Linked DNA regions of Homo sapiens: all the other regions are linked to region 1. The links are contacts of gene promoters, found by promoter capture Hi-C in human tissues and cell types (Jung and others, 2019). All regions are on one chromosome and are shown on one strand. Each heading gives the region's core, a stretch centred on a gene start or on the middle of the fragment in contact. The rest is flanking DNA. Distances are from core to core; before and after follow the strand shown.

What was found. Contacts are between HindIII fragments. The study calls those that stand out against the background at their distance.
Region 2: a contact is called between a fragment that was not itself captured here and the fragment with the promoter of ACKR3 in region 1, in 1 of the 25 tissues and cell types used here (liver).
Region 3: a fragment that was not itself captured here is called in contact with the fragment with the promoter of ACKR3 in region 1 in 1 of the 25 tissues and cell types used here (bladder).
Region 4: a contact is called between a fragment that was not itself captured here and the fragment with the promoter of ACKR3 in region 1, in 1 of the 25 tissues and cell types used here (stomach).
Region 5: a fragment that was not itself captured here is called in contact with the fragment with the promoter of ACKR3 in region 1 in 1 of the 25 tissues and cell types used here (bladder).

What each region holds. Positions count from the first base shown.
Region 1 is chr2:236,566,311-236,571,327 of GRCh38, forward strand. ACKR3 (atypical chemokine receptor 3) reads left to right here and starts at 3,515. Exons shown (of 2, transcript NM_020311.3): 1 at 3,515-3,614. RefSeq lists enhancers at 1,000-1,875, 1,876-2,751 and a silencer at 1,525-1,574. The HindIII fragment of the contact is 7,550 bases long and covers 1-5,017 here.
Region 2 is chr2:236,804,473-236,809,153 of GRCh38, forward strand. It overlaps LOC107986002 (a long non-coding RNA gene), which reads left to right. Exons shown (of 3, transcript XR_001739954.1): 2 at 3,358-3,472; 3 at 4,203-4,283. Among named protein-coding and RNA genes, the nearest start is that of ACKR3, 240 kb to the left of the region's middle. The HindIII fragment of the contact is 9,709 bases long and covers 1-4,681 here.
Region 3 is chr2:236,707,397-236,712,377 of GRCh38, forward strand. No RefSeq gene overlaps it. Among named protein-coding and RNA genes, the nearest start is that of ACKR3, 140 kb to the left of the region's middle. The HindIII fragment of the contact is 6,573 bases long and covers 1-4,930 here.
Region 4 is chr2:236,781,576-236,786,635 of GRCh38, forward strand. No RefSeq gene overlaps it. Among named protein-coding and RNA genes, the nearest start is that of ACKR3, 210 kb to the left of the region's middle. The HindIII fragment of the contact is 7,217 bases long and covers 1-5,060 here.
Region 5 is chr2:236,762,206-236,766,899 of GRCh38, forward strand. No RefSeq gene overlaps it. Among named protein-coding and RNA genes, the nearest start is that of ACKR3, 190 kb to the left of the region's middle. The HindIII fragment of the contact is 3,834 bases long and covers 273-4,106 here.

The sequences.
Region 1 (5,017 bases), core at 2,265-4,764:
AACATCCAGGAACTTTTAGTTCTGGGTCAGCTGGGACAGCGGTAGGGACAGCGTCCTGTTCGTGCCTTCTCTGAGTTTTCTATTAGGTGCCACCAAACACATTCCCACCCAAAAGAACCATTATATTGGACCTTACTGAAAAGGTTAAAATATGCATTCTGGCATGGTAACTGTTTCAGTGAAAGGCACTTGAAAAACAGCAGGTGCAAGATCACTCTCCCCATAGCAGAAGGAAGACAGCATCCTTATCCTTAGGACTAGAAGCTGCCAGCTAAAGAATACTGCAGAGCGTCACTCTAATCTTTTTAGTCACATTTTCAAAGTTTATTCTTCTCTGTTTAATCCAGTATTTAAGTAGTGGACGCGAACTGCTTGCTCGGGTCTGTCCCTCTTTCCTTCCTTTCCTTCCCTTCCTTCCTTCCTTCCTTCCTTCCTTCCTTCCTTCCTTCCTTCCTTTTCTTTGCTAGGGCCTGCCTTTCTCTGTTGCTTTCTTTCTTGCTTTCTTTGTTCGGGTCGTCATCTCTTTCCTCTTTCTTTCTTTCTTTTCTTTCTTTCTCTCTCTGTCTTTTCTTCCTTTCTCTCTCTGTCTCTCCCTCTTTCTTTCTTTCCCCAAGGAGGATTTGCCTGCCTGCCTGCCTGCCTTCCTTCCTTCCTTCCTTCTTTCCTTCCTTCCTACCTTCCTTCCTTCCTTCCCCCTTCCCTTCTTTTTCTTTTGACAGAGTCTCACTCTGTCACCCAGGCTGGATTGCAATGGTGCAATCCCGGCTCACTACAACCTCCGCCTCCCGGGTTCAAGCGATTCTCCTGCCTCCCGAGTAGCTGGGATTACAGACGCGCGCCACCGCGCTGGGCTAATTTTTTGTATTTTTTAGTAGAGATGGGGTTTCACCATGTTGGCCTGGCTGGTCTCGAACTCCCGACCTCGCGATCCGCCCGCCTCGGCCTCCCAAAGTGCTGGGATTACAGGCCTGAGCCACCGCGCCCGGCCGGGTCTGCATTTCTGTATGAGGGCTCCCATGCCGCGTGAAACTTGCACTATGCTTTCCTCCTATTCATCTATCTTATGTCAATTTAATTCTCGGACCCAGCCGGGACCCCTAGAGGATGGAGGTGGAGTTCTGCCCTTACACTGAAAGCACAATCTTCCAAAAGCAGAGACACTCTTCAAAACTTTGAAAAGAGACTTTTAGGTCCTAGGGCAATGGAATCTCGTTTTCTCAAAAAGCCCTGCTTGCTTACCCTCTCGTTTTCCCCCAGGCCTGTTTTCTGGGACAGGGTGGGAGGCCCAAGGAGACAGCCAAGTTCAGGCCCCAAGCACCCAGCTCCTCCTCCCAGGGTGGGAGCCTGGCCAGAGTTCCCGACCCACCCCGCCCCATTCCCCGCTGGCGCTTGGTCCGCCCCTCCCCGTCTGGAAGCCTCCAGCAGCCCCGCCCGGCGGAACTAGGGGACGGGTGGGGGACGTCGAAGGGCGAGGGCGGTGACCCCGGGGCCAGAATTCTCGCAGGCGCCTGGGCCGGGTGCCCGGCCGTGCGTGAGTGCGGAACAAGTCTGGGCGCGGGGAAGGGCGTGGGTGCGGGCCGTGGGTGGGTGCGGGGCAGGGCGCGGGGCTGTGGGAGGGCGCGAGGCCGTGTGTGGGTGCGGGGCTGGGTGCAGGCCGTGGGTGGGCGCGGGGCCGGGGCTGGCGGGGCAGGGCGCAGGCTGCTGCAAGGCGGCCTCGTGGATTCTGGCCCCGGACGCACGAAGCGGGTTCTACTTTTTAAAAAAACTGCGTTGCCTTTTCCTTCCTCTACGTTAGCATCCTGTCCGGGGTCCCCGGCCCATGTGGCCTTTCTTCCAGCGACAGTACACTTAGCTCAGAACGGATTGACACCCACTCTGTGTTTCCACCGGGCGCGCAGGCTCTGCAATGCGGAGCGCGTTCTCTGAAGGACAGGCCCCGGAGTCACGGCTACAGCCACAGAAAGCGGAAACCGAGCTGCAGTCCAGAGGGGATCCCCGTACATTTCCAGCGGGCTCAGACACAGGGTCCCCCACAAGAAAGAAACAGGACAGAAAAAGTCAGGACACGTATGCTGTGGAGAGTCGAGGTCTCGCCTAGATCTTGGGTGTGGGTAGACGCAGCCGCTGGCAGTTTTCCTTTCCAGCGTCTCTGGGGAGCCTGGAGATGTCCTTGGTGCCGATGTGACACGAAGAGTGATTGCGCCGCCCTGCAGAGGCGGTGGCGGGACGCTGCGCTCGGGCTGGGAAAGGCCGGCCCCAGGGCGACCCCTCCGGAGGCCCCCGGAGAGCAGGTGTGCACCTCGCCTCCCGCTGGGCAGCCAGTTCAGGAGAAAAATGTGAAGCTTTTAGCTAAACAAAATATTTCTTTCGTTAAGGGCTTTCTCCACACGGAGACTTTCTAGCCACGTGAGACTTTGACCTCCCAGTCCCCCAGATTCAGCGCTGGGACCGAGCGTCTGCTGTTATTTTTAGTAGAAGTATAAAAAGAATCTCGAAAAGTTTTAGCTCTGGAGAAGGCGTGAATACAGCTGGTGCCTTCATACACTCCACTTGAGCCGCTCTTTAAGAACTCCAGGAGATCAGAAAGCAATACGAAAGCCAGAGCATTGCACATGGGATGGGCTGGCGGGTGGCCTTTGGGTCCCTATCTTATGGACGATTTTTGTAAATGGGGCATTGGAGATGAGTATCACCTGGATCACATTTTTAGGTTGAATTCCTCCGTGGGGGGAACTTTAGCAATACGCATCCAAATAAGAATGTAGATTGCAATAATTGTAGTAAAGTGTTTGCCAGACTCATCTCAGAAAAAGACATTATCAAAAGGCATTTATTATCTTCCTAATGCGTGTCTGGCACTGGGCAGACACTGTAGAATACTATCTTGATTAGAGTCTCAAGGATTTTGTACTTAAAGTCCTTTACAAATAAAAGTATTCAAGTATAATCTATTATAAAGACTCTTTTCTCCACTTTGGGGATATACGGTGTGGCATCGATTCATTGGTCATACCAAAACTGTTACTTCTGTTTTGGAGGAATTAACAAGGAAAACCCAGGCTTAGTAAATCAACATCGAAGTTCAGAAGTTCAGAGTAATTTGTCTTGGGAACAAAGTCCTCCCTAGAGCGAAGAGGCATTCACAGGAGCTCTTGGTGTTAATGGGATTATTCAAGATATACCTGAGACCAGATAAATATTTGATGATTTTGCCAAGCACTAGGGTTTCTTTGCAGTTTGTCTTTGGCTGACGTTTTCCCCCCGTGGGGTTTGGACTTTGTGGCTTCACCAGATTTTGCAAATGAAAGAAGGCTGGGGTTTCCCAAGAGTACACTTGTGCAGGAAACAACAGACTAGTGAGGTTTACAAGAGGGGGGTGTGTGTGTGTGTGTGTCTGCCTGTGGGATGGGGGTGGCACGGGGGAGAGAGAGATGTGGGTTACAAAGCTGCCATCTAGAGGCTAGAGGCTCCTTTCTGCAGTGTATATAATGCAAGTCTGCAGCCAGCAGAGCTCACAGTTGTTGCAAAGTGCTCAGCACTAAGGGAGCCAGCGCACAGCACAGCCAGGAAGGCGAGCGAGCCCAGCCAGCCCAGCCAGCCCAGCCAGCCCGGAGGTAAGGAAACGGTGCTCGGGCAGCAGCTCTGCTCGGAAAGAAGGCACGGCTTCTGCTCTTAAGCCAAGTGGTCTTTTCAAAGGCCTTCTTTAAAATCGCTCAGATGGGTGCTTTTGAGTCTGCGGGTCTGGTTTCTGAAAACCCAGGCTGCACGCAGCTGCATTGCAAAGTGCTTTTGCTAATTCGGAGGGCTTCACCTTTCTCTTCAGAAAGCAAAGGGCAGTTTTCTTAAGTCACTTGCAGAAGGAAATTTCCATGTGTATTTAGGAATCTGGTGTTTATTTGCTGTGTGGCTATTTAAGCTCCAGTAAGCAGGGGAACTTTGCAAGAACACAGACTATCCATTCTGCCTGACCAATTTGGCATGGGGATTAGCTTGGCACCCACTGTTTACCTGTTTTGCTTCTAGTATATCAGTTTGGAAACAGATAAAATTGGCAGTAAATACGTAATTCCAGAATGATGAACACTTTATTAAGAGGCATCCTTAAATGGAGCAGAAAACTGCTGAGAATCTTTGTGAGTCCAAGATGTATTTGAATTCAGTACTTTGGGGGATTTACCAGAGTCTGTAAGTCCGGAAGCTATAAACGTGAATGTTAAACACAGCCCGGTCTTCTCTTCTCTTGATGGCACGCTTGCTAATCTAATTTGAGTATTGTTCTCTTAGAAGGTGTTAAGTCCAACTTCAATTGGGGTTGGGGGAAGCACACACACAAATCTACTATTTTGCAATTTAAATATACTCTTCAGGTAAAATGTGGATTTTGTTCAATTTTGTTGGCATGTGCAAAGATTCAAGGAGTGACTGAGAGAACTTTGGAGTGAGGTCAGGGATGGGTGGTTAGCCAAGACTTGTAACTTCCAGGGAGAATGAGAAGTTGTAAAAGTCAGACTGGCTGTCTCTCTTTCTCTCTTCCTCTTTCTTTCTTTCTTTCTTTCCTTTTGCTCACAACAGGATTACTTAGTGTTTCAAAAGTGGGAGAGAGCCTCCTTAAATGGTTTACAGCCCTTTGAATGTATTTGGTGCAGTGACATCCCCTGAAACTTCAGTCTGCAAAGTCTCAACATGGTAACTTTGTTCTTTTCTTTTTTAAAGGCAGATGCTGCTTTTAGTGTCCCTTTATTTATTCCAGGAAAAATGTGGACATCAGCTAGGCACGCCTAGCAAAGAAAGTGGAGGCTGCTGGTTTCTGTGCTTTAACTTTCCATAGATTTTAAATGGATAAACTGCTTGCCCTTCTTTCATCAGAATATGAGCTTTCCCCAGATGGAAAGTCTTTTCTAAAGCAAAGTTGCACATGGGAGCTCTAGCTTGGAAACAATTTGCTCTTTTTTCCCCAGTCTCTGCCATAAACACTTGAATGTGCACACAACTGCAGAGCTTAATGCCACAACCTCCA
Region 2 (4,681 bases), core at 1,123-3,622, 240 kb after region 1:
TTCATTTTGGGATGAGGGATGGGGAAGTGTATCTTCCTATTGTGTAAACTTGCAGTTCTTTGATTACTAATAATTTTAAATTTTGTTTCATATAATCATTATCAATTTATATTCATATGAATTTCTTGCTCAAGATTGTTAAATTTTTTATTCGTGTGTGTGCATATATATATATATATAGAGAGAGAGAGAGAGAGAGAGAGAGAGAGACAGAGAGAGATGGAGTCTCGCTCTGTTGCCCAGGCTGGAGTGCAGTGGCATGATCTCGGCTAACTGCAACCTCCGCCTCCCAGTTCAAGTGATTCTCCTGCCTCAGCCTCCTGAGTAGCTGGGATTACAGGCACCCACCACCAAGCCCAGCTAATTTCTGTATTTTTAGTAGAGACAGGGTTTTGCCATGTTGGCCAGGCTGGTCTCAAACTCTTGACCTCAGATGATCCACCCACCTCTGCCTCCCAAAGTGTTGGGATTACAGGTGTGAGCCACTGCGCCTGGCCCATGTGTTTATAGTCTACGTTAAAATTTTTTCTTTTATTCTGTACTTGTTATTTGTGCCCTTATCTCAAAAAGGTTTTGGTATAGCTTATTTGTTTAAAAGGTTTTAAAAATAAAAATAGATTTTAAAAACAAAAATAGACCAAAAGTAACAGAAAGGGAGAGAAATAAAACATAAGTAAACATACAGAACATACATAAAAAGGTTCCTATAACATCCCAGTACATTTAGGTCTGAGCTTCCCAATGGACAATGTGGAAAGGAAAAAACTTAACTTTTTTCTTGGAAAAGAAAGAGTATCTTTCTTCAAAGAAGATCAAATTAATGACTTTATTCAAATTTGAAGGAGTTTTTCATGTGGACTTATGCAAAGATTTTGGAAATCATTGCTGAAAATGTCTTTAGAAAAGAATATTAGACACCTAGTAGTTATTGTAAAATAATTCTGTAGTTTTAGATATGAAAACTGTTATACAAAGTCTAATTTATTGACTATTGGACTTTGGGATTTAAGAGACCACTTAAATACAACAAGCAAGATAAAGTGGATGGCAACAATACAATCATCAACTTCGAATTTTCTCATATAAAGATATTTCCTTACTCATATCTTATTCATATAAGATAAAAATTAAACTGTAAATAATTATGATGATGATTTCATTAATGTGTGTATTCTCTCACACATACACTCATAAAATCCCATTAGAAAGTTATGATATCAGAATAAAGAATAGAAATTTCCACAAACTAGCAGTTTTAATTACATGCACACATAGTCTTTTTTTTTTTCTTCCTTGTTTGGCATAGAGTTTAATCAGATTTAAAATGGTGAGAGTTCTGTCTAAGGTTGTTTGTCACTTTATTTTTATTTTTTATTTCCATAGGTTTTAGGGGAACAGATGGTATTTGGGCACATGAGTAAGTTCTTTAATGCACACATATTCTTGTCTCCAGGGTTTTCATTTAGCTATGCAGTCATAAAATCATTTTTGCTACTGGCCCCAGTCCCTGGACTGGTGTCTGGGAAGTACACTAATTCAGAAAACCGAGGCCAAGAAAATGTAAGTGCACTGCCTAAGATTACCCAGCTATTCAATAGCAAAGCTGGGAGGAGAGCCCCAGGCTCCTAATTCCTGTTTCCCTAAACAAGAACAATGGTCTGTAGATTGGAAGAGGAAAAGAATAAAAAAATCATAATTTTGATGTGAAATAGCTGGAGGGACAAAAAGAGGGTATCTTTCTGTGCAAAGGGACTAAGTGTCCAGGCTTAGAGAAACTGTGGAATCACTTCCCGGAACGTGGGGCCAAGCAGCAGATGTGGTGTACATCCGCAGACAGTAATAACTGAGGGACCGGGGAGGTGCCAAGAGGATGGATGTGCAAACTGTGGAATTCAAGGAACAGCTGAAGAACAGGGGCACAGCGGGCCCTGAAAACAATTAAAGAGGGATATTGTGTATAAAGTAATTTAAGTGGAGAGGTCTTCTATGCAATTCTGATTATAGAACTAGAACCAACAAGTTACTAGGAGGAGGATTTCTGGTAAATAATGAGGAATAGAGAAAGAATGTTATTTATTGTCCATTCCAGTCCCAAATCCCAGCAAATAAATATTTTAAAGAAATGTTTAATAAATAGAGCTTCACAGTGGTGAGTACACTGTCAAGAAGCAGTGAATCTTGATTTACTAGATATATTTAAACAAAGGGTTGGTAGAAATATGCCTGGAATACATAAAAATGGAAATATACTGTGGACATCTGATATCCTTGTAACAGGAGTCTCAGAAGGAAAAAGCAGATGACGGAGGGAAAAAATAATAGAAGAAAAATGTATTAAGCTTAGGAAAAATACCACTTTTTATTTAAAAAAGGGAGGGGGGAGCACCAAGCACCAAGAAAGAGTAATGAAAAAAGGAAGAGAAGAAGACCAATACCTAGGTATGTGCTATTGAAATTTTACAACTCTGAGCATAATTTTTAAACATCTTTTTTTTTTTTTTTGAGACGGAGTCTCGCTCTGTCACTCAGGCTGGAGTACAGTGGCGCAATCTCAGCTCACTGCAACCTCTGCCTCCCGGGTTCACGCCATTTTCCTGTCTCAGCCTCCCGAGTAGCTGGGACTACAAGTGCATGCGGCCACACCCAGCTAATTTTTTATATTTTTAGTACAGACAGGGTTTCACCATGTTAGCCAGAATGGTCTTGATCTCCTGACCTCGTGATCTGCCCGCCTCTGCCTCCCAAAGTGCTGGGATTACAGGCATGAGCTACTGTGCCCGGCCAATTTTAAAAAATCTTAATAGCTTCCTGAGAGAAAGAACAGGTTAGCTATAAAGAGATTAAAATAAAATTCAGATTATTTCCGATTCCTCAGCATCATGAGATAAAGAATAATGCCAAAGTTCTAAGAGAAAATTACTTTGAACCTGAAAATTTATACCCAGCAACACTATCCATCAAGTGAAGTCAAAATTATAACATTGTTGGCCAAGCATGGTGGCTCACACCTGTAATCCCAGCACTGTGGGAGGCCAAGGCAGATGGATCATGAGGTCAAGAGACCGAGACCACTCTGGCCAACATGATGAAACCCCATCTCCACTAAAAATACAAAAATTAGCTGGGTGTGGTGCCTCTGTGGTCCCAGCTACTCAGGAGGGTGAGGCAGGAGAATCGCTTGAACCCAGGAGGCAGAGGTTGCAGTGAGCCGAGATCGTGCCATTGCACTCCAGCCTGGTGACAAAGTGAGACTCCGTCAAAAAAAAAAAAAATTATTACATTTTCAGTGCAGCAAAGACAGAAAATGTATTCCCCTTGTACCCTAATTCACCTACTGGAAAACAATTTAAAAAACAGGTCATGTGGAATGGAAGATGCTATGGAAGCTGATTGGAACTGTGAGGAACTGAAATCATCTCCACCTGGAGCAATTAAACATGGACCTTGGAAGCCTTGCCTTTGAGAGGCCCAGGTGGGTCTGGAGACTTAGCATAATTTTTTCTTCTTTGCACATCCATTTAAACAAGTTGGTTCTACAGTGAAATATTTATAGTCTTCATTTTATATGGCTTGGAGTTTGGGTCATTTCCTTATATAAAAGGGGACAAGGTGCACTTGTTTTTTCTAAATCGAATTAAATTCAGTTTTGAGTACCGACTCGTCAAGGCTGGCAAGAAGTGTCTGCCATTAATGGCATTAATAGGCTTCTTGCTTTCCCTGAGCCCAGTGCCATGTGCCCAGAACAACAACGGGGAAAAGCCATGGTTCCTTTCCCTTCATCTGAGCATTGACTGTAATGTCCTTGGCTCCAGGATGCCGTGGTGAGTGTGGTCTTTAGCTGTGCGATGGCTGCAGCTGCTCATCTGCTCTAGGAACCCGAGTGAGACCCTTCCATCCCCCACCCGTGGTCCCTCCCTCTCCAATGTTTCAGCATGAAAGAGGGACACTCACTGGTCTCATGGCCTCACAGGTGGTCATGCTGCCCCATCTGAGGTCCTGTCGGCCCTGCACAGTGCCTCCTAGCCAGGCTCACACCATCCCTGTGTTAAGGGAGCCTAGCTCACGGTCTCCTCCCAGCCCTGGTTCAGCTGCCTCTAGAATGACAGTCTTGCTCCCTAAAGACTCCTCCCTTGATTTTGGTGGGGAACCTATCCTGTCACCTGCAACATCAGGGTGACCCATCCGATCACCTTCTTTTCTAGGGCAACCTGTCCTACCTACCAGCTGCCCCATCAGGGGGTAATCCACTGATCACCTCCCTCTGTTGGCACAGCAATCCTGACACCTACATCTGTGGGGCAACCTTCCCTATCACCTGCACCTTTTGGAATTTTGACTCCACCGTGGAGCCTAAGTGAAGCATGGAGTCTGGGAAAACAAAGCAGAAGCCACTTATTTGAAGAAAGAGAAAATCCCACCCATCCTTTCACCGTGAACCTGGAGTCCCACGGCTAGCTGCTTAGCTGGCTGCACTGTCGCGTTAAATAGTTTCCCTGGAAGAGAAATTGTCCTCTTAGATTTTCATTCGTTTTGTTGTTTCCTGTGGATTTTGGGGAGAGGAGGAGCATCTCCCCTGCACAGCTGCAAACTCAGGTTAGCTGGGTTATACTCCTGTGCCGGAGCTTGCAGCAGGTGATCAGGCCTGTGTACATGAGGCTGTGGAGAGGCAGGGTGGGTACTG
Region 3 (4,981 bases), core at 394-2,893, 140 kb after region 1:
TTAACCTGCTTTGGTTGTTGTTTAACATTAGAACACAAGTGTTTTCCTGTTTTGTTTTGTTTTTTGTTTGTTTGTTTGTTTGTTTTGAGCAGGGTCTTGCTCTGTCACCCAGGCTGGAATGCAGTATGTGATCTCAGCTCACTGCAACCTCTGCCTCCTGGGTTCAAGTGAGTCTCCTTCCTCAGTCTCCCGAGTAGCTGGGACTACAGGCATGCACCACCACGCCCGGCTGATTTTTGTATTTTTAGTAGAGTCAGGGTTTCGCCATGTTGGCCAGGCTGGTCTCGAACTCCTGACCCCAAATGATCCACCCACCTCTGCCTCCCAAAGTGCTGGGATTACAGGTGTGAGCCACCTTGCCTGGCCTGTTTTCCTGGCCTGTTTCCTGAATGCATCATGATCTACATACTCTGTTCCCTGACTTGAGACACAGATTATTTCTAATTTTTCTCTATTATAAATATAGCTGTGATAGATATGAAAATATATTTTATATCAAATTCTGCCTATATTTTTCCTGAAAAATATTTTAGCTAGATCTGATGTTGCTAAGAAGGGAGAAATAAGCTGGTTTTTAAATGTTTTTTCTCTAAAAGAGCATACAGTAAACATTTTTTGCTAAGTGCTCCGTAAAGTCTCCATCACAACTATTCAGCTCTGCCATCATACCACAAAAACATCCACAGACATTTGGGTGTGGCTGTGTTCCAGTAAAACCTTATTTACAAAAACAGCCAGTGGGCCAGATTTGGCCCGCCAGCCATAGTGAGCTGACCTGCTCTTCCAACACCAGCCTGGTCCACGCTCCGCCTGCCACTAAGGTAGCCTCTTTCTTCTTGCCTGGCTAACATCTGCTCTTCCATTAGGTTTCAGTAAATATTCGTTTCCCAGGGAGCTCGTTCCTGAGTCTTTAGAACGGATTCTGTCTTTTAGAACAGTTATCCCAGCTGTAATTAAAGAGATCTTTACAGAGAAAATCATTATTCGCTGATTCCCCTTCTTCATCTGAAATGTCAGTGGCGTTCTTGGCTTTTTCCTTCTTGGGTCTTCCAGGGCCTACCATAGATTTTCCACACAGAGGAAAATCTGATGTATTAAATCATGGGACGCAATGTACTTTTCACACCAACAATCCTGAGGCCCTGAAGGTCGACGCGTTAATCCTCACAACAGACCCATGAGATGAGCGTGGTTCTCGCTTTTACAGAAGAGCAAATGGAAGATCAGAGAAGCTCAATAACTCACACCAAGCCCCAGGGCTGGTGAGGGGAACGTTGACCTGGAAAAAGCTGCTGGCGTGCTCCACAGAGAGCTCACTCAAGGGACAGGAAGGCACCACCAATGGCCTCGATCCCATCGCCTCGCCTGGGGAGGGGAGCTGAGGAGAAGCCACAGAAGGATCGACTCATACTTCCATTTATTAGGCTTGGTCAGATCAAGGAGGCAAACTTGGCCTAGCTTTTACGCAGCCACTCAGTTTTCTAATCAAATGACTCCATCGAGTTATCAATTTGATCGACAGATATAAATTGAGCCTCCACCAGGTGCCACGCTGAGAATAGTATGGGGAGTGAAGCTGGCTTTCCCTGGTGACTCATGGAGAGGCAGACATTGAACTATCACACACACACACACACATGCACACACACAGGCACACACGCGCATGCACACACACACACATGCACACATGCACACACACATACATTCTCTTTCTTGAATTACAGCTGGGATAATTGTTTTAAAAGACAGAATCCATTCTAAAGTCTCCAGGAAGAGCTCTCCGGGACAGGAATATTTACTGAAACCCAACGGAAGAGCAAGTGTTAGCCAGGCAAGAAGGAAGAGGCTACCTCAGCGGCAGGCGGAGTGTGGACCAGGCCTGGAGTCGGAAGAGCAGGTCAGCTCACTATGGCTGGCGGGCCAAATCTGGCCACTCTCTGTTTTTACAAGCAAAGTTTGACTGGAACACAGCCACACCCAAATGTTTGTGGATATTTTTGTGGTACAATGGCAGAGCTGAATAGTTGTGATGGAGACTTACGAAACACGTATCCTCAAATATTTACTGAGTGGTCTTCTAGAGAAAAAGTTCCAAAATCCCAGCTGTGGAGAAATAGGACAAGGTGGCTGGGGCATGGTGAAAGAGGGGACATCGGTGGGACCCTATGGGCCTCAGGGACCACAGGAGAGAGTTGGATATGGTTTGGATTTGTGTCCCCGCCCAAGTCTCATGTTGAATTGTAATCCTCAGTGGTGGAGGTAGGGCCGGTGGGAGGTGATGGGATCATGGGTGCGGGTCCTTCATGAATGGTTTAGCGCCATCTCGGTGCTGTTCTCGGTGACAGTGAGTGAGTTACTGTGCTGTCTGGTTGTTTGAAAGTGTGTAGCACCTGCCTGCCTTGCCCCTGCTTTTGCCGTGTGAGCTGCAGTTCCCCCTTTGCCTTTCCTATGATTGTGAGTTTTCCTGAAGCTTCCCCAGAGGCTGAGGAGGTGCAGGCACCATGGGTCCTGTACAGCCTGCAGAACTGTGAGCCAATGAAACCTCTTCTCTGTATAGATTACCCAGCCTCGGGTGTTTCTTTATAGCAATGCGAGAATAAACTAATACAGTACCTTTCCTGAGAGATAAGAGAGAGCCACTGAAGATTATGAACAAACCAGTGAGAGGACAAGTTTATGTTTGTCTGTTTGTTTTTCTGAGACAGAGTCTTTCTCTGTCACCCAGGCTGGAGTGCAGTGGCTTGATCTCAGCTCACTGCAATCTCTGCCTCCCTGGTTCAAGTGATTCTCCTGCCTCAGCCTCCCGAGTAGCTGGGATTACAGGTGCCCGCCACCACGCCCGGCTAATTTTTGTATTTTTTTTTTTTTTAGTAGAGATGGGCTTTTGCTAAGTTGGCCAGGTTGGTCCCGAACTCCTGACCTCAAGTGGTCCGCCCGCCTCGGCCTCCCAAAGTGCTGGGATTACAGGAGTGAGCCACTGAGCCTGGCCTGATTTATATATTTTTTAAAATTACATATTTGACATAACAGTCCCTAATACTCAGCTTTAGGCTTGCTTTTCTTGATTTCTAGTAGTTCTTAATAAATATTTGCTAAATGAATGAAATAATCTTAGTAAAAGTTTTAGGTGACATTCAGATATAATGGAAACATGGTCATATCATGAAGTTCTTGATTATATTATATTTTTACCATAAGCCATTTCTTTTTAGAAAGTGTTCGTCCTGTAAATAAACAAACTATTCTCAAATGTTTTCTATTAACACTTTCTACAATTAATTGCTGTCCTTTTTGGTAGTGATATTCTAGTTCAATAATTTAGCTCAAAGCAGATTAGCTGTACACAGGGCAGGGTTATGATTGCCTTTATTTATTTATTTTTTTTTTGAGATGGAGTCTTGCTCTTTCACCCAGGCTAGAGTGCAGTGGCACCATCTTAGCTCAGTACAACATCCACCTCCCGGGTTCGAGTGATTCTTCTGCCTCAGCCTCCTGAGTAGCTGGGACTACAGGCGCCTGCCACCACTTCTAGCTAAATTTTTTTTGTATTTTTGGTAGATACGGGGTTTCATCATGTTGGCCAGGCTAGTCTCGAACTTCTGACCTCAGATGATCCACCCACCTCAGCCTCCAAAGTGCTGGGATTACAGGCGTGAGCCATTGTGACTGGCCTGATAATTACCTTTTGATTTTGCTGTGCTCGGTTGCTGCTGCCGTGAAGCCCAGTTCCCCAGCTGAATTGGGCATCAGTTCACAATGTAGAGCTTCCCAAGGATGCCAGGCCCAATGGGTCCATTTGCTTATTAGTGTTAGTTGACACTTACAGGTCAGAGCAAAAGTGTTAGTTCCCTCCTTGAGCAAGGTTGTCCTGGACAGAAGATACACGAACATCCCAGTATGACCATCTGGTCAACCTGACAATTAACTGCCCCTGCTGAAGCAAGTCCTGGGGGTCAAGGGACTGCTCCCTGGCCATGCCCATGCACACGAACACATACCCATGCACACATTCCCATGTGCACACACTTGCACACATGTATTTACCCTCATTCCTAATCACTTGTGTTCCAGTGGTCAGTGTGATGGGTAATTTTATGTGTTAACTTGACTGAGCCATGGGGTAACTAGATATTTGGGCAAACATTATTCTGGGTGTATCTGTAGGGCGTTTCTGGGTGAGAGCCACATTTGAGTCAGCAGAATGAGGAAAGTGGATGACCCTCCCTTGTGGGTAGGCCTCCACCCAGCAGCTGAAGACCTGGCTAGAACCAAAGGCTGAGTAAGCAGGAACTCCTCCTGCCCAACTATTTGAGCTGGGCCATGGGCAGTTTCCTGCTTTTAGACTCAGAGTGAAACACCAGCTCTTCTTAGGTCTCAAGCCTGCCAGCTTTGGGACTTGGAACTACACCTTTGGCTCTTCAGGGTCTCCAGCTTGCCGACTGCGGACGTTGGGGCTTCTTGGCCTCTATAATTGCATGAGCCAATTCCTTATAATAAATCTCTCTCTCCCTACACACCACACACACACACACACACACACACACACACACAATTGGTTCTGTTTCTCTGAAGAAATGCAGTGTATTAGATGAAGAAATACAGTGTATTAGATTAGTTAGTATATATAAACAATGGGATATAGGCATAGATATGGATATATATTATTATGGGAATTGGCTCATGAGATTATCGAGGTGGAGAAGACCCACAGGAGACCATCTGCAAGCTGGAGAACCAGGGAAGCCTGGTGGCCTAGCCCAGTCCAAGTCAGAAGGCCTAAGAACCTGGGAACTGAGAGGGTAACTCTCCGTACAAAGAGTCCTGGAGTCCCAAGGCCAGGGAACCTGGAGTTCTGATGACCAGGGGCAGGAGATGTGCGTCTCAGATGCAGAGACAGAGAATTCACCTTTCATTGGTCTTTTGTTCTATCTGGGCCCTCAGCCCACTGGAGAGTACTACCCACATTGTGTGAGGATGGATC
Region 4 (5,060 bases), core at 1,325-3,824, 210 kb after region 1:
CTGCTTCCCCATCTCTGGAGTCTCTGTCAAGGCTCACCCTGGATTTGAGGTAGGTTAAGTAGCCAATGAGCCCAGCTGGTCCACAGACACCAAAATTGTGTGTCCTGGATGAAGTCAGCATCTTTCCCTCGCCCTGTGCCTTTCTTGTCTGTTGGTTCCTATTTCTGTTCCTACTCACAATCTACCTCTGGGGATATCACCTGTCTTTGTTTTCCAGAGTCACCTCTGCCAGCCCAAAAGCTGCTGCTTCTAGAAAGTCACTACCATTTCTAAAAAGTTCCTTGCATCTGGTCCCCCCTCATCACCATCCCCAGCACCTCATCATTGCTGAACCACAGCCCATAGCAATCTCTTTAGTCAAGGTTGTGCTTCACCTTCCTTCTTTGAATCAATGCTCTTTGAAACAATATCCCTAGGAGTTACTTTCTTCGTGACCTCTTCCCTAGAGGACGGCCTCCTTGTCTGCCTGCGCCTGGCTTCCCTCCCACCCCTACCTTTTCCACCATCATAATCACTGCCACTACCTCACTGAGATCCTGGCGTGCAGCTCTAATTTTATCTCTGACCTGCAGAAGGTGTGTGAGAATGGACTGAGATGACCTGAGCACGGGTGAAAGGTCCGCATCAAACCCAGAAAGTCAGCCGAGATCCAGGGGCGGGTTCTCATCCTACGGCCTCTCTACATTCGTTTCTGAGACACAAAAGGACTTCACAGTGAATGTTCAAGCAAATTAGAGCACAAAAACAAAAGGGTTGTGGGCAAGCAACTGCGAAGACCACAGCTGTGTTTTGGTAAATTCCCGGGCGAGGAGGATATGCCGGGTGAGTGAGGGAGGCCAGAGAGCGACAGAGTTCTTGGGTTAACTGGAAAATTCAATTATCCAGAACCACAGTCCATCAGCAATCTGTTTAGTCAAGGTTTTGCTTCACCTTCCTTCTTTGAATCAATGCTCTTTGAAACAATATCCCCAGGAGTTATTCGCTATAGAGTAGAAGCACAGATTTTGTCTATTTAGCAAAATAGGAGACGAAATGGAATGCTGCTGGGCTAATTGCTTTGCAAGGAAGAAGAGAGGCAATACTTCAGCACTTTAACCAGATTCCCTACTTTTGCTTTTTCCATTTGATCAATTTACATGTGTACTGCAAGAAATTGTGTTATAAGAAAGCTGAGCCATTCTGGTGTTCACTAAGGAATGTAGCTTTGATTAGTCCTTGTGTTAAAACAAACATAAAGTGTACGGGCTGCCACAGAAATACTTAAGTAGAAGGAGCTCTTTGTGGGACAGTAACATTTCTGTCAGTTCCCATGTCTGTTACATTATTGATTCCATCATTTTCTAGGAGCTCCAAAGAAATTGTTTTCTGAAATCCATGTGGCTTTAGGATTCTGAGTACAAATATGCTTTATTTTATAAGAAGTGAATTAATTCATGCAGCTCTCTAAAGCCACTAGTCAGGAGTAGAAACCATTGCCAGTAAGAACAAAAATACTAAAGAGAAGCAGAAATCCTACGCACATGCCCTTTGTAACTGATGTAATTGGTTTTTAAAGTGATGTAATTTAAAAAATACTGGAATGTTTTGCAATGACTCATACCTTAAGCCACATGGTCGGCATCCGTGAATGCTTGGCCACAGGTATCGTTGACAAATCCTTTGACCCTGTCATTCTGAAACCCATGCTGTCAGAGCCATAGTTTCCATCAAGAAATCTGGCCAACGGGATCCATATTTCCAGATAGTGTCCACATCATCCATCTATTCACACTCTCACTCAAAAAATATATCCTGAACTGTTATTATGGACAAAGCGCCAAAAATGGTGGTTTTTATCTTTTCTTTTTTTTTTTTCTTTCGGAAATGTGGTAATTAAGTCAAGTGTCAAAACAAATGCAACTGCTTGGCAAAAAAAAAAAAAAAAAATTGGCACTATTTCCTCTGAAGAAACAGACTCTATGCATGGGAATTGCTGAAAATGGGGCAAAAAGTCCCCTTGTACACTCTGCAGACTGCCCCCCTCCCCTGCAATCTAACCCTCTCATCTCTTGCCTCTGCTCTTGCAGCAGTTTCTAGACTCCCCTCCCAGTGTCCACTCTGCCCTCATCATCGTCATCCATAGAGCAGTGGCAGGGATTTTCACGTGGATCCCCACACCATTGCCCTGAGCAGCATGGGGTGTGGGTGCCCCAGGACACTTGACTCTGCTCAGCCCGGCCCCCACCCATCTCCCGCTGTTCACTCTGTTTGTTCTCCTTGGAATAAGACAAGATCATTTTTGCCTCTGGAACATTGCACTTGGCTGCTTCCTCTTTCTGGACTCCTTTCTGGGATATTTGCAAGGCCTCCGTTCATCCCACAGAGGGTCTGCCTCTGACCATCCCATCTCAAATAGCTGCTTCCCACCCACTCACAGTGGCTGACTCACACCACCTGGTATGATTGTCTTTATCAAAATGATCAGCCATCGATTTGTTTTGTACCTGAACATGTTTGCTGGTTTATTTCCTCCCTCTTGTTTCTTTTGTTCACCTCTATATCCCCTGTGGTTTTGTATGCTCATCACGCAGTAGGTGTTCAGTAAACACTTGCTAAGTGTCTTTGTTTTCAATTGCTGCTGTAACAAATTACTGCAAGTTCGATGGCTTAAAAACAACACACATTTGGCCGGGTGTGGTGGCTCACGCCTGTAAGCCCAGCACTTTGGGAGGCCAAGGCGGGCGGATCACGATGTCAGGAGATCAAGACCATCCTGGCTGACACGGTGAAACCCTGTCGCTACTAAAAATACAAAAAATTAGCCGGGCGTGGTGGTGGACACCTGTAGTCCCAGCTACTCGGGAGGCTGAGGCAGGAGAATGGTGTGAACTCGGGAGGTGGACCTTGCAGTGAGCCGAGACTGTGCCACTGCACTCCAGCCTGGGCGACAGAGTGAGACTCCATCTCAAAAAAAACAAAAAAACAAAACAAAACAAAACAAAACAAAAACCACACACACACGTACAAACACATTTATCCTCTGACCCCTGCATTCCTTCTGCAAGCTCTGATTCCCGGCCTTTCCAGCTTTTAGAGGCTGCCTGCATTCCTTGACTGATGGGCTCTTCCTCATATCACTCCCATCTCTGCTTTTGTGGTCACTTCTCCTTCTCTGACTCTGACCGTCTTATGAGGGTCTCCCTCTTATGAGGGCTTTTGTGATTATATTGAGCCCATCCAAGTAAGCCAGCATAATGACTCCATCTCGAGCTTCTGAACTCACTGACACCTTCAGGGTGTGTCAAAAGACACCTTCTGCCATGTGAGATACCATATTCATAGGTTTAGGGGATTAGGATGTTGGCATCTTTGGAGTCCATTATTCTGTCTACCACACTAAGAAAAGACATGCATGAGTGTGATTGCTTAAGAATACATCCACAACCTCTTTGCTTTTCCTCCCTTCAAGAGATGGAGCTTAATTCCTTTCCGTTTGATTGTGGGCTGGACTTAGCAAATTGTTTCTAACAAAGGAAGATGACATAAGTGAAGGTTTGTAACTTCGAGACTGGGTCGTAAGAGGCATCCTGACTTCCTCCTTGCTCTCTCTTGGATCACTGGCTCTGGGGGAATCCGCTGCCGTGGTGTGAGGATGCTCCGGCAGCTCTATAGAGGACCCACGTGGCAAGGACTGAGGCTTCCTGCTAGCAGCCATGTGAGTGAGCCATGGTCTAGGAAGTGGACTCCCCACCTCGATCAAGCGTTTGGAGGACTGTAGCCCAGATGGCTACAAGTTGTCTGTAACTTCAAGAGAGACCCTGAGCTAGAAGCACCCAGCCAATCTACTCCTAAATTCCTGTCCCACAGGAAAGGTAACATAATAGATATATTCATTGTTTTAAGCCACATTTGGGGGATAATTTGCTGTACAGCAACAGATAAGTAAAACAAAAAGCTATTTTAGAATTCCTCCAAACAAAAGAAAACACATTACTTTGTGCCTTGATAGTCTTTGGAACTCTCTTAGCCAACCAGGACCCCACCTCCCTGCAGGACAGGATCATCCCAATAATCACACTCTTGGAACTACGGTCTCTTCAGTTCCTTCTCCAGTACTCATGGTGCTCCAGCACAACATGTGAGTGGATGAGCTGGGACTCTGACTCACAGAACAATACACACAGTACATTTCAAGTATATTTCATTAGTCTATTCAGATCTCTCCTCTGGGTGTGATCGTTTTCATTTTCTTTCAAATTCCAATTCTGTTATCTCTTGGCTGCTGTTACTCCCAGATATTTTCCAATGTTGCCTGGCTACTGACAGATACAATTCTTCCCTCCCACCCTTTCCTTTATTTGCTTCTTCGAACAGCACGTTCACATGCCTTATCTAATGGCCCTCTGGGTCCTGCTTATCTTCAAGATCCTTCTCCCATTTCTCCCCTCTTATGGCGCCTTAGGCAGACACAGCTGGTAGATCACCTAGAAGAGGACCGTCTTGCCTGGTTTCTTTCTGGGCTGCTACTGCTTATCCCATGGCTGGATGTTTGTATCAGTCAGGACCAGATAAGCTATGCTACAGTAACAGTCAAGCCCAAAATATCAAGGGATTAAAAACTTTGTTTTCATTTGTTTGTCCCCTTCTCCACCCTGTCCTTCTACATGTCCACTGCTTTCTGGTTGGGGGCATGGACTCATCTCCATCTCACAGACCCTGGCTGACAGAAGCTCCATTCCTATGCTTCCATGATAGAAAGGCAGAAAAAAGAGAAATATGTTGAATAATATTTGCTCTGACGTTTCTCTGAAAGGGATCTATGCCCTTCTGATCTCATTTCATTTGCCAAAGCAAGTCACATGGCCACACCTAACCTCAAAGGGAGCAGGGAAGGGCCATCCTAATATGTGCTTGGAAAATGGAGAGTTGGAGATATTTGGTGAATATCACCAATGACTGCCACAATGCCATTGGTCTTTGGCCTGCCTGGCCTCTGTCTAAGCTCTGTAGGTTCTGTGGATAATCAGATAAGGGTCTCTTAGTTGCAACTGACAGAAATGTGACTCTGGTTGGCCTAAGAA
Region 5 (4,694 bases), core at 940-3,439, 190 kb after region 1:
GTGCCAAGGCCTACCAGGCATGGGTGATGAGCTTGGACACAGATGTGTAAGTATATTGTTCAGTGCTGTAATGACAGCCCCAGGAAGAACTCAAACGGAAATGCTTACAGAGGTTGTCTCTGCACTGTGGGGTGGGGAGCAGGGGGAATGGAGGAATAACTTTTTCTCTTCATTTAACATCTTCCTGTACTGAGTGAAATATTTTTACCATGTCCATGCATTACTTTTATCATATTTTGGAATATGAGTTTGAATAAAAGATAAATTGCTGGTGTGAAGTGTGTGTTTGAAGGCATATTGGCAGTGGTAGTGGTTGGTGAAACATTTGTAGGAATGAATTCCAGCCTGGAGTGTTGGGAAGAGATGGAATCCAGGATCCAGAGAGAGAGGCCGGCTTTAGAGACGGTGGAAATCTGTCCTGGGTGGAAGGATGATGTGGGTGAGGGTCCTATGTGTGGAGGGTTGGTGAAGGCACTGGTGTCTGGTGGCTGCTCTCAACTCCTTTCATTCACGGAGGGTGTGGTGGATTGGTGATTTATGGAGAAGAGGCTTGTTGTCAGGGGTGGAGCAACTTTCGTGGAGACAGAGAGTGATGAGTGACTGCCCTGGGCAGTAGCAATAAAGTTGACCAGAATCCTGGATTCCGGGATGGCTGGGTCCCTGCCTAATGACGTCACCTGCTGAGACATAGGATGATGACTCCACAAAACCCCCATCACTGTAGCTCCCCAACATCCTGGAGGCCTGAGATAAAAGCAGGGGAGGATGCGTTTCATATTTTTTTAAATCATAATCATATAAGGGTTCAGATGTAGGATTGGAAGGGCAGGCCCCATTTGTCCCTTTAAGGTCTTCCCTCCCTTCTGGCCCCAAGAGTATGAGGGGAAGTCACTGGGATGCTGCCGACTGTCCCCAGGACACCTGGCATTGTCCCTGTGCTCCCTGGGTTCATGCTGACATTGTGGTGGGTAGGTGCCAATGTGCAGAGCCCACAAGGCAGCACCTCCTCACATTTCACACCCTCAGGGCCTCACATGCCTCAGCAAAGTGAGCCCCTCATCAATATCACGGCAATTCTAACTAGGAGACGCCACAGAGATGGCAAAGTTTATTCTTTTCTTTTTCATCTTCTAAACATAACTGTGGTTTCAATTTGGGAATAAGCGAATAAAGGTTTGTTTTGCGTCAGGAGATTTAATTTTTTTGCCCCTTAACTATCTTTCTTCTTGCTTTCCATGTGTTTCGAATATCTGCAGTAAATAGAATACAGTACTTGTAAGTCTTGAGAAACACATTGAAAACAGTTTACCTCACTGGACATTTGTAAAGAAAATTCAGCAAAGTGGTTTGCTGCCTTCTGGATGTGGTTGTGCACTGTTCCCACAAGGACAAGATTCCCAAGTTCTTGGCCACATTTTTAAGAGAAAAGCCTTAATTTCACAGGGAGCAGGTGATAGAAAATTTTCGTGTGCATTTTTCACAGAATAAAGCAAATGAAAGCCAGCATGTGAATCCCATTTGCTAAGTGTATCCTGACACAATCAGCTGATTTTTATGCATCAGAGCACCTAAAACTCCATCAATTTTTCTAAATTTTCATATGCATGTCAGTAAAGCTTAACAGTAAAAAAGAGTATAATTTTAAGAGTTTCTGATTTTTAATGATTTTACATAGTGTTCTTTGTCTTACTCTGCCTGTCCCTTCTGTTGGAAAAATTGGGTCTCATCACTCACTGGGTGAGATGACAGCCCAGGCAGGCTGCACAAATCACTCCACTAGCGGCAGCCCCGGAGCTCCTAATGGTGTTGGAAAATGTGTGTGCCTCGTGCACCCTTCTTTAGAAAATATGAATTTAGCGATGTGGTCATTGGTGTTTCTTCTTAAATTTCAGATGCAGTGTCCTAGCATCTATCATGTACAATAAATAACATGGGTGGACTCTTTGCAAACCACATATGGTTTCCACGTGCAGCATTTGTCTTCTCAGAAGCGGGATGACAACAGACCACACTTTGTCAGGCTTTGGGCCTAGCAAAGGTGCTTAAGGGGCAGAGTTTTCCCTTTAACTGCATAAGCCTTCCATTTGCCTTCTCTGATCTGAAGTAGCAGACTTAGGGCACATAGGTTACAGGGAGCTGACTTTTGCTGTGCAATTCCTGTGCCCCTGGATGTCAGATACTCAGGTGGCACATGCCCTGCTCAACCCAAAAGCTCGAGCAACATAACAGCTGAGTGGCTGCAACATAACAGCTATCTATTCCCCAGTTTAGGGACTTCGGGGTTGCTTTGAATTGTTCGAATTTAGGGTTGCTGAGTGAATTGCAGCAAGCAACAGATGCTGCAGTGTGTGTACGTGTCCATCTGTGATGTTGGAAAGGTGGGGATGGTTGATGTTGGTCATATCGGCACCCCTTTCCCATGCGATCTCCCAGATTATTCCAGACCTTGTTCAGGGACCTCCAGATGTTCCTGACAGGTGCCTTTCAGACACCTTAAGCCTCTGCTTTCCTTCTCTGCTTCTCCATTTCCCTCTGCAATGAGGCTAGGAAATCCATAAAAAATGCCTGCTCTTACCTCCAGGGTTATGTTGCTAAGTGACTCTGCCCTCCAAGTCACAAGAGCCAATTCCCAGGGCTTGGCCCATCTCCCTTACTCCTGCACCTTTTCCCTTGCCATCCCTGCCATAGCAGCTCCCAGGCACAAAGCTGGAGCAAAGGCGTGGGATGCCTTCGTGCATAAACTTGCCAGTTTCCTTTTCCCTGTTCATGTTGAAACTGGCAAGTTTATGCACCCAGGTGTTAGTGGAGGTGTTCTCTGTTTTGTTTGTTTGTTTGTTTTGGTCTTTGTTATTTTCAAAAGGAGACAGGAGACCACAAGCTTCCTGGCCAGCTAGGCAGAGAGGTCTCAGGCCTGGGCTGAACTCTCTGCACACAGCCATAGGATCTAGATACCTGGCCCTACAAGGTGTAGCCCTCAGCTGGCTGTGTGCAGACCCTCTCTCTGTACCTGCAACCTCCTAACCCCACCATGAAAAAGCCTCGTGCTGGAGAGATTGTGGTAGTGGGTACATCTGTACCTGCTAGTATGTGATTGAAGATGCATGCTGAGAAAATCAACTGGGAAAGACCCTCTTCCTAAAGTTTTCTTTCCAGAAAAACACCCTCAGGTGCTTGAGAGCCAGTTCCAGAAGTGATCATGATGCTGCACATACTCTCTAGTGGGCCTTTATTGCCAAAAAGTGACAGGCAGCTCATTGAGTGTCCAGCTTAAAGCGTCTAGAGATGTTGGCTGAGCTGGCCCTCAACGTTGGCTCTTTCTGGCTTTGGAAGTGCAGACGCTCTTGCCTGTGCCCTTTGTCTGTTTTATGGTTCCATTAAGTACATGATGGCTGATTTTATGAGCATAGCCTAAGATGACAGCACTGGGCTCTGCAAAGGCATTTCTTTAACTTCCTGAGGAGCCTTTATTCTCTGACAACCAAAGCCATTTGATCCCACCCTGCCCCCCAGCTCTGGGCTCTTAATCCCTCTTGTTTACAGTGAGTTTAATCTCTGTCATATTTCCCATTTAGCTGGACAAATCCCACCCTCCCTGGACTGAGCCATGTGACCACATCAGTTGGGTCCAGTGACAGGGGTTTTAAATGTGTCTATCTCTTGAAAGAACAAACAATCTTCAAAGCCTTAAACCCACTCCCATAAATAGTCTTTGAAGGGCATTTAAAGGCAAAACTTGATAAACAGGATCAGAGAACGGAGTGATGAGGACCACCCTAGCATAGAATAAACCAGGTTTTGAAATAAAAAATTAGTCAACTTTTCTATTCAATGTGTGTCTTATGAAAAGACTAAGACCAGTTTTATAACAGTTTTGCACTTAAAAAAGCAAGAGAAACTTGACCCATGTGGTTCACAGGTAAATATTAGGCTCACAGTACTCTGCCCCAGTGTGGGACTATCCAGACACGTGGGTGTTTGGGGCTGCCATTCAGGGACTCAGGACCATCAAGGCAGGTTAGTAAATAAACACTGCCAAGAATACTAGGCATCACTTTTGATGTTAGAAGCCCTCTGTCCATCTTAAGGCGGTATCATAGCAGCTGGGCTTCTTTTCTCCTGTGAACACTGGTAATTGGTTCATGGAACAAAGGAATATCAGAGACCTCCTTAACAACATGCTACAAAGCCCAGCAAAGAAGAGGGAGGGAAACAGAGATCGTAAACACAGCAATTACCCTTGGATGGATTAGTGACTCCTTTTGTTTCTTGGTACAAAAGCAAAACTGTTCTTACATTCGTTACTTGAATTTAACCCACCAAAATTTTTGAAAATTGTAGTAAAATACACGTAACTCAAAATTTGCCATTTTAATCATTTTTAAGTGTCCAGTTCAGTGGCATTAGCACATACATATTATTGAGCCAGCGTCACCACCATTTATCTCCAGAACATTTTCATCTTCCCATTCTGTACCCATTTCATCTTCCTCCCCACTCTGTACCTATTCTCCCTCCCCCAGCCCTTAGAACCCACCATTCGACTTTCTGTCTCTATGAATTTGACTATTTTAGGTACCTCCTGTAACAGGAATCATACATTATTTGTCCTTTTGTGACTGGCATATTTAGCAACATGGCTTTGAGATCCATCCATATTGTGGCATGTATCAAAATTTTCTTTATTTTTAAGGAAG